Linked DNA regions of Homo sapiens: region 1 is linked to region 2. Evidence: promoter capture Hi-C in 16 types of primary human blood cells and fetal thymus (Javierre and others, 2016). All regions are on one chromosome and are shown on one strand. Each heading gives the region's core, a stretch centred on a gene start or on the middle of the fragment in contact. The rest is flanking DNA. Distances are from core to core; before and after follow the strand shown.

Region 1 (4,660 bases), core at 2,161-4,660, 110 kb before region 2:
ACAAAAATTAGCTGTGCATGGTGATAGTCACCTGTAATCCCAGCTACTTGGGAGGCTGAGGCAGGTGAATCATTTGAACCCAGGAAGCGGAGATTGCAGTGAGCCAAGATCACGCCACTGCACTCCAGCCTGGGCGACACAGTGAGACTCCATCTCTATTTAAAAAAAAAAAAAAACGGGAAATCTGATTCTAAAATAACATAAGAATTCTATTAAAGGCTCACACTGGGTATGACTTAAAGACCCTCCTAAAAGGAAGAGACCAGCTAGACCAGCTACACACTTCCAGATCTTAGTCAGGGGATGAATGGGTCAAGAGAACCTTAAAGAGTTTTCTTAACACCTTAAACATTTTCCCTGTATCTTCTCCACAGAAGATTATTCTGGCAAGAATCATTCTGACTGCCAGGAGAGAAAGCGATTCATTCTACACAAGCTTTTAACCCTCTGTAGGAAGAGGCATGCAAGTTTCTGGAGTACCTGGGGAAACCATCCCAAGCCAAGGATAATGACAAACTTTTAACTGGGGGAGGGGTAATCCAACCAATGAGGTTCGCTATAACTTGAGAATATATATTCCTCATTTGTATTTCTTCTAAGGCCAAGATTCCACCATCCCCAAGTCAGAAGCCACGACAAGGAATTTAACCCTGAGAAATGTCCTCAGAGCCCAGGTCTCACTCTGCCTGGGCCCCCATCTCTGCAGACCCTTACCGCCAGCCCAGGCCTTCCGCCTGTAGAGGTCCTCCACCATATCCGAAACCCTCTTGATGTGCTCCTGGACCTTCTGCAGCATGTGGCTGTGCTCCTTGGAGCCCACGTGACTGTGGATCCATACACTTTGCTCGATGTCCTGCACCACCAGCTTGCCTTCATCAATGGCCGGGTCCACCTTCTCGTGGAAAAATTCTGAGTATTTCTGGTAGGCCACTTGCTGCCTCTGGTGGTGTTCTAGATGGATATGCTGCTCGTAAGACTCGCTGTTCCTCTCCTGACACTCCTCCCTTTCCAGCTCAGCCCTGGAAAGGACTGCCACCTCGGAAGCTGCCCCCTCAAACGCTTTGCTGGGGCTGAAATAGTTCTCTGGGCCACGGGTAAACTTCACTCCACATAGGTCACACTGGGTCCTGTCCACGTCTGCCTTTTTGAAGTTCCCAGCCCTGGGCTCCCTGGCCTCCTCCCTGACACGCTCCATCTGGGTGCCCACTCTTCTCCTCCAACTGATGCACAGAGACACCACCAGGCATGCCCTCCTCAACTTCCGCTGTATGGAGGCCTTCCGTTGCTTTTGGGAAAGAATGGTGGCCAGGACGTGGTCTCGGTCTTCTAATGCCAGTTCATCCATCTCATCCTGGCCAAACTCACACTCAGGTTCAGCAAAGTAGTCCACAGGGTCCAAACAGAGCAGGCGGTTTAGTCTGACCTCCTCATAATAGAGGCCACGGACTATGGACCCTTTGGTGTGCACAGGGTCCCACCGCCAGTCACAGTCCATTAGGTACTCTTCATCCCGCTCAAAGAGCAGGTCCTGCAGTGCCTCAGCCACAGACTTCACATTGACTGCCACCAAGACCCGCTTCACCACCTTCAGGAGCCTCTCGGGAACCTGGCCAGGGCAGTCCATGCTCATGAGCTGCAGCCTTGACTCAATCTCCCGGAAGTGGCGATACAGGAGAGGCTTGCAGTATGGCTGCAGGATCTCCTCAGCATTCACTAGCATCACCAAGCACAGCACCAGTGTCCGCTCAGCCTCACCCGAGACCACATAGTCTATTTCACTGAAGGCATCAAGCAGGACGTTGAAGTTCACATTCTCATAGCCACATAGCACCTTGGCGAGGTAGGAGAGATGGAACCGGAAATCCTGAATGGCTCTTGTCACGTCCTTGGGTTTGTATTCCTGAATGATGGAGAACACATCCCCAAGCTCCTTGTCCTTCTTGCTAAACAGGAACTCCCAGTAGTGCAAGAGTGCAATGTAGCTCTTGGGGAGGCATAGAATGACATTCTTCCAGAGGCGGGCCAGCACCACCCCACAGTGGATGAACTGGAACTCCAGGAGGGCTACTGTGTTTCCAATGCTGGGGATGAGTGGTTCTTTGCACCTCTTGATGAGGACATTCATGAAACGGAAAAAGAGCCTCTTGTAGTCTTCTGGGTTCCTGTACACGTAGAATTGATCAATGCAATTCTCCAGAAGCCGGATGAAGCACAGGTGGGTCTTGTCCATATTTTCATCATCCCTGTTGGGTGCCAGCATGCCAAATTTCCCTTCTATTCCTTTTATCCTGCTGCCTCTCCCCCTGCCCCTTTCATCCTTTTCAGACTCTAGAGCTTTGAGTTCCCTGTTGTAGTTGTCCTCCTCCTGGTGGAGCAGCTTTTCAAACTCCTCCGGGTAGTTGGAAGAGAGAAGGAAAGCTTGCATGGCACTCAGCCACAGGTCTGTGGATTCCCGGCGGTTGCGTGCGCTTTCATTTTCAAACAGAAAGTGGATGTACTCCTTCAAAGCAAATCTGTAGAACCGGAAGGATTTGTAATTTGGTTTGAGGATTTCTTTGCATGCCATGGGGTTTTCTGACAACACTCTCTGATGGAAATGCTTAGGGAAAAGGACATCCAGAATGGACTTGCAAAGGCCATACATATCTGTAGACAAAATATAATCAATTTCTTTAAGTTCTTCTGCTAAGATTTTAGGGAATACTTTTTTGGCTTCCAAAAGCAACCCGTTGATTGCCACCAAGTTCATTTTCGACTGAACTAAACACTTGGCTTCACAACGCCGCAGAGGCCTGTGAAAATGTTCACAGTTTTCATCCTCACATTTTAAGCCTACAATAAACCTCATGCAGACTCCTCGGTAGGTCTTCCCAAGCAGGCTCCGTGTGATCTGACACAGCCTGCCCAAAAGGTGTTTGTTTAGGGCTAATTTCACTTGGTCAGTCATTATCAAAAAATGATCTTTTGTTTTTTTCTCTCTCAAGTTCAAATCCAGGTCAAAAATTATTCTTAATATGGGCCCAGGGTCATTCTGAGCTATCTGGCAATACTTGGCATCCACCTGGGAAATCCCAAAAAACTCAAAGCAAGATTTGACCATTTCCTTCTCAGCATTGTTGGTCACTCTTTTGAGAGCCCTGACCAGACTGAGGAGGATTTCCAAGCCCCCTGGAGCCAGGCCCAGAATCTTCTCAGGCTCGGCCTCACACTGGCTGGCTGCTTCGTAGAGTGCTTCCACCACTCCAGCTGAGTGGTTGAGCGTGTCAAACTTGAAGAAGGCATCCCTGAGCTTCTGAAAGTCTCTCAGGATTACCCCTTGCAGGAAGTGGGCCTCCGCAATGCCAGACAACTGGCCAGTTTGATAGCAGATATCAAGTGCTTCTCTCAGAATGTCCTTGGTGTGTTCTATGTCGGAATCCCTGGCCACATTGAGGCGGGCGGCCCCCAGCAGACATGAGGCCTGGAAGTCCTTGTCGGCAGTGAGCCTGGCAGCCTCCAGGAGGCAGCCATGTTGCTTCATCAGCAGGGCAGCCTCTTCTCTCCTACCTTCCCTGTTCAGCAGGTCTGCAGCTTCTGCTAAGCGTTTCCGAGACTTCAAGAACACCAGCTGGTCTTCTATGTCTAGCTTTGAGAGGACAGCCATCATTTCCTTCATCTTATTTGCACTCAGATACTTTGCTGCAGCTTCCAAGTAAAACTGACTGGCAGAATAGGAGAGCTTGGAAATGGGAAGGGTCTTAGTCTTTAGCATTTCTTCATACCTGCAAAGACAAAGGACACAAATGTCAACTTGCCATCACCCAATCAATAGAAAATTTCCTCCAAAATACAGTGCAGAGCAACTTAAATAAAACTCCCACATGTAGATATTACAAAATAAAACCTAAACTTGTCAAGCATTCAAGTATTTTTACAAAGGCCTTATTTTACACTGTTACCAGTATAATAATAATGAATAAATTCCTTATGCTTCAATCAGGAATTGGTGTGCTTAATTAATGAAATATAGTGGAGGTGTAACTCAAACAAGTGGGAGTGAAATCCAAAAGTCAATCTATAGGGCAAATGTTATGCATAGTCTAAATTATCCTTGAAAAACATCTCTTTGGTTCTCATAAAAGCATCATAATCATCTGGGTCTACAACTCTGTTCAGTTTGATAAAATGAGAAAGGATGAAATGGGGGCTGCACATGCATCAGCAATTACACCAGTCTTCCCCTTATTACCCAACTTGTGATTCTTCTCTTTTAGCAGGTGTGCATTAGTTGGGTTCCTGTGAGATTAATGAGGCTCTGAAGGACTCCCCTTTATTCTGCTGATGGAAGTCAGAATACGTCATTATATACACACTCATAACATACTCCCATCCCCCTCAGCCCCCTCTCTTTGTGACACTGCATCAAAGCTTATAAAGAGACTGGAAAATAGAGTCCTGCTCTCAAAGAGCTGCTGACCCAGCACTGAGGCCATCGCTTAAGTGGAAAGGGAGCAATGTGGTCAAACCATGTCAGAAGCAGCAGGATAGCACCACCCAGAGCAGGCTGCCCCCAGAGAGAAGTGGGAGGAAGAGAGGGAGAAAGGGAGAGAATAAAACCACCTACTTTTCCACTGCAATAGCAGCTTCTTCAAAAAGCTCCTCTTGGCAGTACATTTTGAGT
Region 2 (4,213 bases), core at 1,162-3,661:
TGGTACTGGCTTGAACCACACAGCCATGTCCTACAGTATTCTATCACTCAAGTATGAATTTCAGTCTACTTCATCACTCCTACACCAAGTCCTCACTTCCAAAGTCAACTCCCCTGTGAAATGCTGACGGTCTCCTCATACTCTGGGAGAGCGGCGGAAACAGAACCTGCAGTTGCCCCATAAAGCTGGTCAGTCGGTCATAAAGTGAAGTTAACAATTTATGACCCGCTTTAAAAAAAAAAAAAAAACATAGAATGGGCCGGCGTGGTGGCTCTGGCGTGTAATCCCAGCACTCTGGCAGGCAGAAGCGGGTGGATCACTTGAGATCAGGAGTTTGAGACCAGCATGGCCAACATGGCGAAACACCGTCTCCACTAAAAATACAAAAATTAGTCAGGCTTGGTGGCGCCCCACCCCCGGCCCCCCGTAATCCCAGCTATTTCGGAGGCTGCGGCAGGAGAATCGCTTGAACCCAGGAGGCGGAGGCTGCAGTGAGCCGAGATCGCCTCATTGCACTCCAGCCTGGGTGACAGAGCGAGAATCCCTCTGGTGGGGGGTGGGGGGAGGGAATAGAATGGAAAATATCATTGTGCCTCACCCTGTAGAAAGAATAACTATACCATGAAGCTCTTGCTGCAATTTTACATGTGTATGTGTGTGTGCGTATATATGTATATATAATATTACACACATATTATGCATATATACATTATATACATATAGGTGGGTGGGTGTGGGTCTTGATCGAAAAAAGACCTAGAAACCCATACATAGGCCAGTGGCAGTGGGATGCGACTCTGGGAGTGAATGCCACACACACCTATCCCACCTCTACCCACCCCCCCACCCCCCGCAGAGGATGCAAAAGCCAACAAAGAGCATATGAACTCAAGCACCTATCCTGCAATCCTACAAAACAGACCTGCCTGGAAAACAGTTGAAACAAACTCCTGACCACCGTCCCCGCCCTCCAACACACACACACCGTAGTACTTTTTTTTTTTTTCTATAAAGGACCAAACAGGATGCCATCCGGATAACAGCCTTATATCAAAAAGGATCCTGGAACCCAAAACGCTCAGCACGAGGGAGCAGGAGCGCATACCTACGCTGGGAACACAAGGCTTTAATCCCAGCTATTCCTTCCCGCATAAGGACTAACTGAGCCAGCAGCAACTGGGTTGGAGCAGATAGGGGAACTAGAGACCTCAGAGCCCCATTCTCTTTCTGCTTCTTAAATTTTTTTTTCTTTTATTTTCCAAATTGCACACTTCCATAAAAATTTTCCTAGGAAGCACCAAAGCTTTCAACTGCCCAGAAACACCCCGATCTGGGAGAAAAGGTGGCTTGAGCTGCACCTCAAAGATGGGCTCTATCTCAGCCGGGTTGCAAGTGCACAGGGCTCCCCGCGGGACGGAGACAGGGAGTTGGGAGGAAACGCAACGCGCCTCCCAGGCAACAGACTCCGAGCTCCGGTTCGGAAACGCTCCGAGGCAGAAGCAAGGGCTTCTAAGGGCTCCGCTTCCCAGCCTTGGGTCCCTACTACTACCTTCCCCCTAGACTCGGTGAGCCCAGGCTGATGGACCGTGCAGTCCAGTTTGAGCCAGCCCAGCAGCCCTCAATCGGGCGGGCAGGGAAGAAGGCCTCCTACTGCCGGGAAGAGGCCAGCGCGCTCCAAGTTCCCCGCAAATTCCGCCCTTCCCGCCTGGCACGGTTCCCTTGCACCGCTGTGCTCCGCTCCCAGGTTTCTGCCCGCCAAGAATGCTTGCCCCGGGGGCGCGCTCGCTGGTCAGGAACCTGTCGGCAGCCCCCGGGAACCCCTGAGGATGCGGAGGTGGGCCCGAGAGCTGCGGCTTCGATGCCGGGGTGGGAGCTAGGCAGGCCGCGCGCCGCCGCAGTCCTGTCGCAGCGCGTGCCCTGGTCCCTCCGGACCGAAAAGGCCGAAGCCGTCCCCCGCGACCGACCCCGCGCAACTGGCTCGGGTCTGCACCTAGATGGCTGTGGGCCCCACAGGGATGGCCGGGCGGGCCCGTTCGGCCGCTACCTCAGGGTCGCCAGTCCCCGCGCGCGGCCGCCTCCCGCCAGGAAGGGTGGCGGGCCCGGAAGGCCAGAGATGCCCCAGTGCTTCCCGCGCCGCTACGCACCTAGCTGCCCGCGGGTCCCACATGGCTGCGGCCGGAGGGTCCGCACCAGGACCGCCGCCGCCTGGGGAAGCGCTTCCCTGTGGGCAGGGCGCGGCGGGCAGTGCGGAAGCCCGAAAGCTACCGGAGCCCGGGGCAGGGGCGGCGCGATGCAGAGGCGGCGTTCGGGGGCCCCCAGCTGCCTGCGGCTCGGCTACCCAGCCGCGATCAGAGGGGGCGGGGGACGCAGGAACCCCGGCGTCCGGGCGGTGTGCAGCCGCAGACCTATTCCAAGTTTCCACGTAGTTGCGAGAGCCCAAAAACTGTCACGTGCACGTCGCTGCTGAGTGGGAGGAGGTGTTTGTCATCGCGTTCAAAAGGGGCGTTTCGGTGTCTCCCGTCATGCAAGCAAATGGTATGGCTCTCGGCCGCCTTTGAATAAACGAGTGCTTCGAACCCTTTACCAGGAGGGACTAGGCGCACAACCACCTCCGACACTCCTCGGGCATGCGAGAATTCGGCTTTCCTTAGTGGGGCCCATCAATGTTGTCCGGGAGGTAAAGAAAGTGATCGGCCAACGGCCTCAGCGTGGGTTTTCTCCTTCCCTCGTTCCTCCCTCCAACAAAGGACGTACGGAGAACAAGCCCCCTAGCTCCTACAGATGAGGAGCTCAGGAGTCGGGCGAATATCAAGTACTTACTGTGTGCTTGCCCCTCCACTCTGGGGAGGCTGGGGGTCCGGGAGTGAAGGGGGCAGCGAGACCGCGGGCTGCTCCACGCTCACCGTCGTGTCCATGGAGAGTAAGTGCGCACAGGCCTGAGCAGGCAACAAAATGAGGATCTTGCCTTGTCTTTCCACCTCCCCAGTGATGATCGACAGAGTAGTGGGTCGGAGAGGACCACCTCTGGCTGCTACCTCCCCAGCGGTTCTCGGCCTAGGGAGCCGGTTTGGTCTTCACAGCTTCTCTGGGCCTGGGAGTACTTTCCTACACACCAGAGAATCCACCCAATCAGAGAGCTAAGCCCGCCGCCCTCCCCTGGGGCAAGGTTCGGCCTACACTGCATCCCGGTGGTTCGCCCATCCTTCTGGGGGACCACCACACCAGGCTGCCTGGTGGCAGGGAGGACACCACCAGAGCTTTAGTGAGGGGGACCACACATTTCAGCGAAACAGAGAGGCTTTGGTAACACGTGGACACACCTAAGGCACACAGTATACTTCTCTCCACTGGTCATTCTGCGTTGTGAACTAGTCTCAGTCTAGCTAGTGGTCTCCTTGCTTCTAGAATCTCACAGAGATTTCTGTGCATTGATCTTCCCCAAACATCAGGATGAATCACGTACAGTTCAAAAGCCATCAGTGGCACTCCATTGTCTCCTAGAGATCAGGTTAGGTACCCGGGCATTTGAGATTCTTCTTCACAATCTTGCCCCACATTTCCAATCTTAGCTTCCTCATGCAAACTCTATACTGCAGTGCTTCCCAACCTTAGTTACACAATAGAATCACCTGGGGAGCTTAAAAACAAAAACAAGGCCGGGCGGGTGGCTCACACCCGTAATCCCAGCACTTTGGAAGCCTGAGGCAGGCGGATCACCTGAGGTCGGGAGTTTGAGACCAGCCAGACCAACATGGAGAAACCCCATCTCTACTAAAAATACAAAAAAAAAAAAAAAAACCCAAAAATATGCGTATGTTTGGCTTTTACTCCCAAATTGTCTAATTGACATGGGCGTCAGGAATTTTTGTTTTTGTTTTTGTTTTGAGACAGTCTCACTCTGTTGTTCAGGTGATTCTCCTGCCTCAGCCTCCTGAGTAACTGGGATTACAGGTGCCCGCCGCCTTGCCCGGCTGAATTTTTTAGATTTTTAGTAGAGGCGGGGTTTCACCATGTTAGACAGGCTGGTCTCAAACCCATGACCTCAAGTGATCCACCCACTTAGGCTTCCCCAAGTGCTGGAATTATAGGTGCAAGCCACCACACCCAGCCACATCAGGATTTTTAAAAGACTATAACATGCTGCAAAGTTTGAGAATCACTGCTAGCCACCAAATAGTTGGACTACTTGCTATTTCCCAGACATCATTGGTCC

The links. Contacts are between HindIII fragments. The CHiCAGO score rates a contact against its expected background, and 5 or more counts as called.
Region 1: a fragment that was not itself captured here is called in contact with the fragment with the promoter of TRANK1 in region 2 in 4 of 17 cell types (neutrophils, naive B cells, non-activated CD4 T cells and 1 more); the score reaches 5.9 in neutrophils.

What each region holds. Positions count from the first base shown.
Region 1 is chr3:36,830,159-36,834,818 of GRCh38, forward strand. It overlaps TRANK1 (tetratricopeptide repeat and ankyrin repeat containing 1), which reads right to left. Exons shown (of 24, transcript NM_001329998.2): 21 at 4,604-4,660; 22 at 715-3,761. Among named protein-coding and RNA genes, the nearest start is that of LINC02033, 10 kb to the left of the region's middle. The HindIII fragment of the contact is 1,989 bases long and covers 2,417-4,405 here.
Region 2 is chr3:36,942,643-36,946,855 of GRCh38, forward strand. TRANK1 (tetratricopeptide repeat and ankyrin repeat containing 1) reads right to left here and starts at 2,412. Exons shown (of 24, transcript NM_001329998.2): 1 at 2,145-2,412. The coding sequence starts at 2,167. RefSeq lists a silencer at 2,060-2,279 and an enhancer at 2,510-2,579. The HindIII fragment of the contact is 7,723 bases long and covers 1,302-4,213 here.